2 separate regions of the Homo sapiens genome follow, and region 1 is linked to region 2. Evidence: promoter capture Hi-C in human tissues and cell types (Jung and others, 2019). All regions are on one chromosome and are shown on one strand. The core of a region is centred on a gene start or on the middle of the fragment in contact, and the rest is flanking DNA. Distances in the headings are between cores, read along the strand shown.

Region 1 (2,806 bases), core at 205-2,704, 260 kb after region 2:
CACCATTCCTGGGCCACCTGCATTTTTACATTCCCCATACATCCCTGAATTTCAGGATGGTCTCAGTTATATTCTCCCCTCTGTGTCCTGATTTCAAGTACTAAAAGTATATTCAGCATGTCTACTCATGCCCCCTAGCCAGTATCTGTCAAGCTTTATGGCTTGTGGAGTGTAGGATCAGGAGCTCTGGAGTGGCTCTCTGGATTCTGCCACTTATTAGTGCTCTGCCCTTAGGCAAGTTATTTAACCTCTCTGATCCTCACTTTGTTCATCTATAAAATGGGAATGGTGATATTATTTCCCTAACAAGGTGGTTGTAAATATTAAGTAGGTGCATGTGCATGTGAAAAAATTACAGAAGTATTTGGTACGCAAAACACTCAGTGTGGCCGGGTGTGGTGGCTCATGCCTGTACTTTCGGAGACTGAGGCAGGAGGATCACTTGAGTTCAGGAGTTTGAGACCAGCCTATGCAACACGGCAAAACTCCATCTCTACAAAAATTAGCTGAGTATGGTGTTGCGTGCCTGTAGTCCCAGCTACTTAGGGGGCTGAGGTGGGAAGATTGCTTGAACCCAGGAGGTCAAGGCTGCAGTGAATTGTGATCATGGCACTGTACTCCAGTCTGGGCAATCGAGTGAGACCAGACCCTGTCTCAAAAACAAACAAACAAACAAAAAAACAATGCTCAGTCGTCAAGATTAGCATCTATTGTTGTGATAATGATGTTTTGTCATCATTATCATAATCATGATATATGAAGTTAATAACCTGCCAGAAAATAAGACTTATTTGTCCCACATCAGTAATGGAAAGTTTACAAAGCTTAGGTGCCAAGCCAGAAACTTCACTTCAAACTAACTTATTAGTATGGAATTTTCATGCTAGCAGAAAGACTTCTCCACCTGTTGGAAATGCAGAAGATACAGGGTTTAGCACTGTGTGCCCAGTGGACTCCGCTTGTCTCATGCTGCTATTACTTTGTTAGGGCTGTCTATGGAAGGGGAGTAGGACAATGCTGATCCCATTTAGCCCACTGGAAGAGCTGGGGTGGAACGGAACCCAGCTGCTTATGGGCTTTGACCCCCCTAGACATAGAAAGGAAACAGGATATACCATTTCTATCCAGTCCCAACCCCAATTCTGCCCACTTTTCTCTCTCCTTTTCTCCTCAAGGTTTCTCATCAAATGTTGTACTTGATTTGGAGACTGGGCCCAGGGGATGTATTGACTTTGTGAAGAAAGAGGAGACTTTGAAGGGCAAATGCTGCTTTGTGACTGCAATAATCACAGCCAGTCTCAGCTTTTTCTTCCCTCTCTTCTCCTTCGGCACAATTTTCAATGGAAAAGAGAAGGGAGGCTGTAAATTTGACATTTTTGTCCTGATGTTCAGGCTTATTTCAAAGAAGGTGTTTATGATTTAAATCCTATCTTTGTGGAAATCCCTAGTTTCTTGCTGCTGCTTAGTATGAGGAGATAAAGTTCCCCTATTAAACCCACCCTCCCTCCAAAGTTCCCCTGTTAAACCCACCCTCCCCTCCCACAGACACAGACACAACAAGCTCTGCGTAAACGGTTTTTTGAGAAATGTTTACACAATAGTTACTCAGAACCTGTAGGCTCCTTGATGCATATTTCTTCTGGGATAATGGTTCCTTTTTCTCATTTTGAAGTCCCAGCCTTCATAAGTAGAACTGATACCTTGTTTGAAATGAGGGAGGGTGAGTGAGTAGGTAAAAGAGAGTGTGTGCAATTTATATGCCATATATAGGCAAGTTTGTTGGCTTTTTTAAATTCTAAAGTTGAATTTAAAAACAGCTATCACTTACAGAGCACCCAGTGTAACTACTACACTAAGTTTTTGATAAATATTTTATTTAATCTTCCAAATACTCTCCAGTGAATAAACTGAGGTTTAAAGAGGATAAATACCTTCCCTAGGGTCTCAAAATCTCCATCGGTGGTTCTCAAGCTGTTCCAAGGTCAGCAGCATCTTTATCACCTGAAAACTCATTAGAAATGCAGACTATCCGGTTCCACCCCAGACCTGCTGAATCAGACACTGAGGCTGGGGCCTGGCAGTCCGTGTTTTAACAAGTCTTTCAGATGATTCTAATCCATGCTGAAGTTTGAGACCTAGTCATCTAGACTTAGGCCTTTGAGGTTCACCTGTCACTTGTCTACATCTTGATAATTTTGTGATTTTGACTGCATCTAAGAGATTTTTAATAAGCAGGAGTAAAACTGCTGAAATTAGTTATAGCATCAGTTTATTTTCCTCCTTTTCATCATAATTAGACAGCTTTCCAATAAAAATACTGCTTAAGTAAGGTTTGAGGTGAATGTTCATGAAACTTGTATGGTCTTAATGGCCTTGGAAATAGTACATTTATATGTAGAAGTCCTAAATAACATTGTAGAAGCCTTGTCTCCTTTACCTTTCTGGAAAATGCATCTCTAGTTATTGTATTGCTGCAGTTCTGTGACCTGGAATACTTCCAGCATCTGGAAGGAGCCTTAGACTTTACACTGCCCCTTTTTGCACTTGAGCCATCACTTGGCTTCCCCATAATGATAATCAGAGTGGAACATTTTGGGTGGTTTCATGCTAAGAGCTGCTGTGTTCCCTTAGTGTCCTAACATTCTTTAGAGGTCATTTTCAGGAGGGAGTTGGGTTCACAAGGCAGATATGTTTAATAATCTGCTTTAGAGCTGAGTCCCCCTCTCCATTGCATATTCCACATCAGAAAGAGGTTTTGGAAAGCATCCTTGCAAGTGGAAGGAAGAAAAGTTGCTCTGGCATTTCA
Region 2 (2,773 bases), core at 121-2,620:
CAGGCTGCAATCCACGTGTGAGATCTTCCCTGCTGGCATTGGCTGCTCCCTCACCTGGGTCCCCAACATTTCACACAAGCCTCAGCACAGCGCTGAGCGCCAGGTTTCTCCTCTATTCCAGACCAGCAGCAACTTTAGAGTTAGACACCTTGCCCTGAGGCCCTGCAGAGTGTCTGGCTCATGGCAGATACTCAAACACCGAGGCTGAGTGAACAGTCCACGAGTACCCGCTTAGCTCCTCCACTAGCAGGAATGCCCAGGACATGGGCAATACAGAATCCTCACCCAATGATCTCAGCACCTACAGCAATGCATTCAGCCTCGGACACAAACTTTCTGCATCCTCCAAGGGCCTGAACAAGAAATGTGACAGAAGCAAGGTTTTCCGTTCTTCAAGCTTATTTCAGGTTTGTTTTTGTTTGTTTCTTTGTTTGGTTTGGTTTGGTTTTTTGAGACAGGGTCTCACTCTATCGCCCAGGCTGGAGTGCAGTGGTTCATTGCAACTTTTGCCTCCTGGGTTCAAGAGATCCTTCCACCTCAGCCTCCCGAGTAGCTAGGACTAGAGAGCGCCACCACACCCGGCTAACTTTTGTATTTTTTGGTAGAGACAGGGCTTCACCATGTTGGCCAGGCTAGTAACTCCTGACCTCAAGTGATCCGTCCACCTCGGCCTCCCAAAGTCCTTGGATTCCAGGCTTGAGCCACCGCGCCCGGCCCTATTTCAGTTTTCAGTCTGCTTTCTCCTCCCTTCGACTCTACCTGGGACATCAATCTACCTCCCCAGGCTACCCGGATAATTCTCTCATCACCTGGCTAATTCACACTCAGTCTTCAGTTTTTCTCGTCGACGTCAGCTCCTCAAGAAGCCCTCCCTGACCTACTCCCCACCCCAAGTTTAGATCAGGTGCTCCCTCTGGGAGCCGGCTCAGGAGGCCTCTGCCTCCTCTTGGTTGTGCTGTAATCGCCCATTGGTCGCTTTCCTTTTCTAGACTGTGAACTCCACGAGGGCAAGAGGTAATCTTGTTCTCTCGTCCCCATCGCTTATGACACCGCCTGGAGCTTAGTAAGGGCTCAACATTTTGGAATAAATTCAAGGAGTGGCGTGTCCCCAGAGTAGCTGTGCTGGGCCGTGTGCCGCCCGCGCAACAGCTCCTATTTGGGGAATTCCAGCCTTAGGCCTCAGTCTCTCCGCAGCTGAGACTTGGGACTCTGTACCCGGGAGGCGCGCCCGCCGACTTGGGACCCGCCTCCAGGGTCCCAGAGCGACCCCGCCCGCCGGGGCCGTGTCCCTGCCGCGGGGCGGCGGCGGCTCCCAGGCAGGAGCCTGCGAGCAGGTGGGGGCGGCGGCCCCGCCTCCGCGTCCCGGCAGCACCAGAGCCGGTGGCCGGGGAGCGAGCCGGGCGCACCGAGCGCAGCTCGGCGGTAGCGGCGCCGCTTGGAGCACGGGCGCTGCGGGACGGAGCCCGGAGCCGGAGGCGGCGGCGGCGGAGACGTCGGCCGGAGCTCGAGTCCAGTCCAGCCCCCGGCTCCGCCACCTGCAGGTAGCGGCTTCCCGCGCGGGTGCGGGTCGGTGCCCGAGGGTGGAAGGAACGGGCGGTGTGGCGGCCGCCGCCCTGGTCGGTCCCGGAGCAGAGTGGCCCGGCCCGGGACAGAGATCCTGAGGGCGTGGGAGGGCCGGGGAACCCCCGCCGGGCTGCAGCCCCGGGCCCAGGAGGTTGTCGACGTGCCGCGCGGCGCTCACGCCCCCCACCCGCACCCTGCCACGCCGCCCCGGCCGGGCCGGGCCGGGCCGGGCGGAAACAAACCGCGGGGTGGGGAGCGAGGTCACCACGGGGTTGCTTGGTGACTTCTCCGGACTGGACTCCCCGGTGAGCAGCCCCTGGCACCGAGGCCGCCTCGGCCTGGTCCTTCGCGACGCTCTCTCTTCTCCGCTTCGCCCCCGGAACAAAAGGCTGGGGTCTCGCTGGGGAGGGGGCTGTCGCGGGAAGGGCTGGGGCGGAGTAAAAGAGAGCTAGGAAATTGCAGAGCCGGAGGTGGCTTGGGGAATACAGAAGGAGCCCCCTAGTGAGGAAGCCAACTCCAGAGATGTGAAGTGACTTGTCCAAGGTCACACAGCTCATGGGGACAGAGCGCAGGTCTCTGGACACCCCTCCCGTGCTCATCTCCAAGCCCCTGGGGTCAGTAGTCAGACTGTGCTCCAGCAATGTACATTTGGCCACAAATGGGTTTAGGGTCCTTTGGAGGATTAGGTGGTGGGTAGGTAGGTGGCAGAGCAGATTTCCCCCAGCCCCTGACACGCACTCTCTGAAGGTGGCGGGGAGGGCGGGCACCCGGCCGCCCTGGACCTGGAGGAGCGCCGCCCGGGCCCCGTGGGCAGGCAGGCACCGGCTCTCAGGAACAGCGCCTTTGGAGGGTGGCGTGCCAGCCGCGTGGGTGTGCCCGTGGCGGGCGCCGGGGCGGCGTGGGGACCGTGTGTGCGCCTCCCTCTGGAAAGAAGTTTCTGCAGGGAAAGGCCAGGAGAGCGGTTCCATGCGCCCTGGGACAGTGTGGCCAATCCCTGACACTCAGGGCGCTTTGTAACTGGCTGTATTGGGGAGGAAAGTTACTCTGTAGCAGGAAGTTAGGCTGTCTCTTCGCCTCTGTGCCTGGGGTCCTTGGCTGTAAATGAGGGCCTTGTTTGGCATGACCAGTGTGATTTAGAAGGTTTGTGCCCCTCCGCCTCCTCCTTTCCAGAATCTTTTCTCACTTCACAGGGAGGACTGGGAGTGCACTT

Evidence for each region. The method cuts DNA at HindIII sites, captures the fragments that hold promoters and counts their contacts. A contact is called where the count stands out against the background at its distance.
Region 1: a contact is called between a fragment that was not itself captured here and the fragment with the promoter of WIPF3 in region 2, in 2 of the 25 tissues and cell types used here (adrenal gland and dorsolateral prefrontal cortex).

Annotation. Positions count from the first base shown.
Region 1 is chr7:30,063,892-30,066,697 of GRCh38, forward strand. The region is part of intron 12 of PLEKHA8 (pleckstrin homology domain containing A8); the gene reads left to right. Among named protein-coding and RNA genes, the nearest start is that of PLEKHA8, 37 kb to the left of the region's middle. The HindIII fragment of the contact is 3,555 bases long and covers 1-2,806 here.
Region 2 is chr7:29,805,138-29,807,910 of GRCh38, forward strand. It overlaps WIPF3 (WAS/WASL interacting protein family member 3), which reads left to right and starts at 1,371. Exons shown (of 9, transcript NM_001080529.3): 1 at 1,371-1,541. RefSeq lists an enhancer at 1,107-2,016. The HindIII fragment of the contact is 12,406 bases long and covers 1-2,773 here.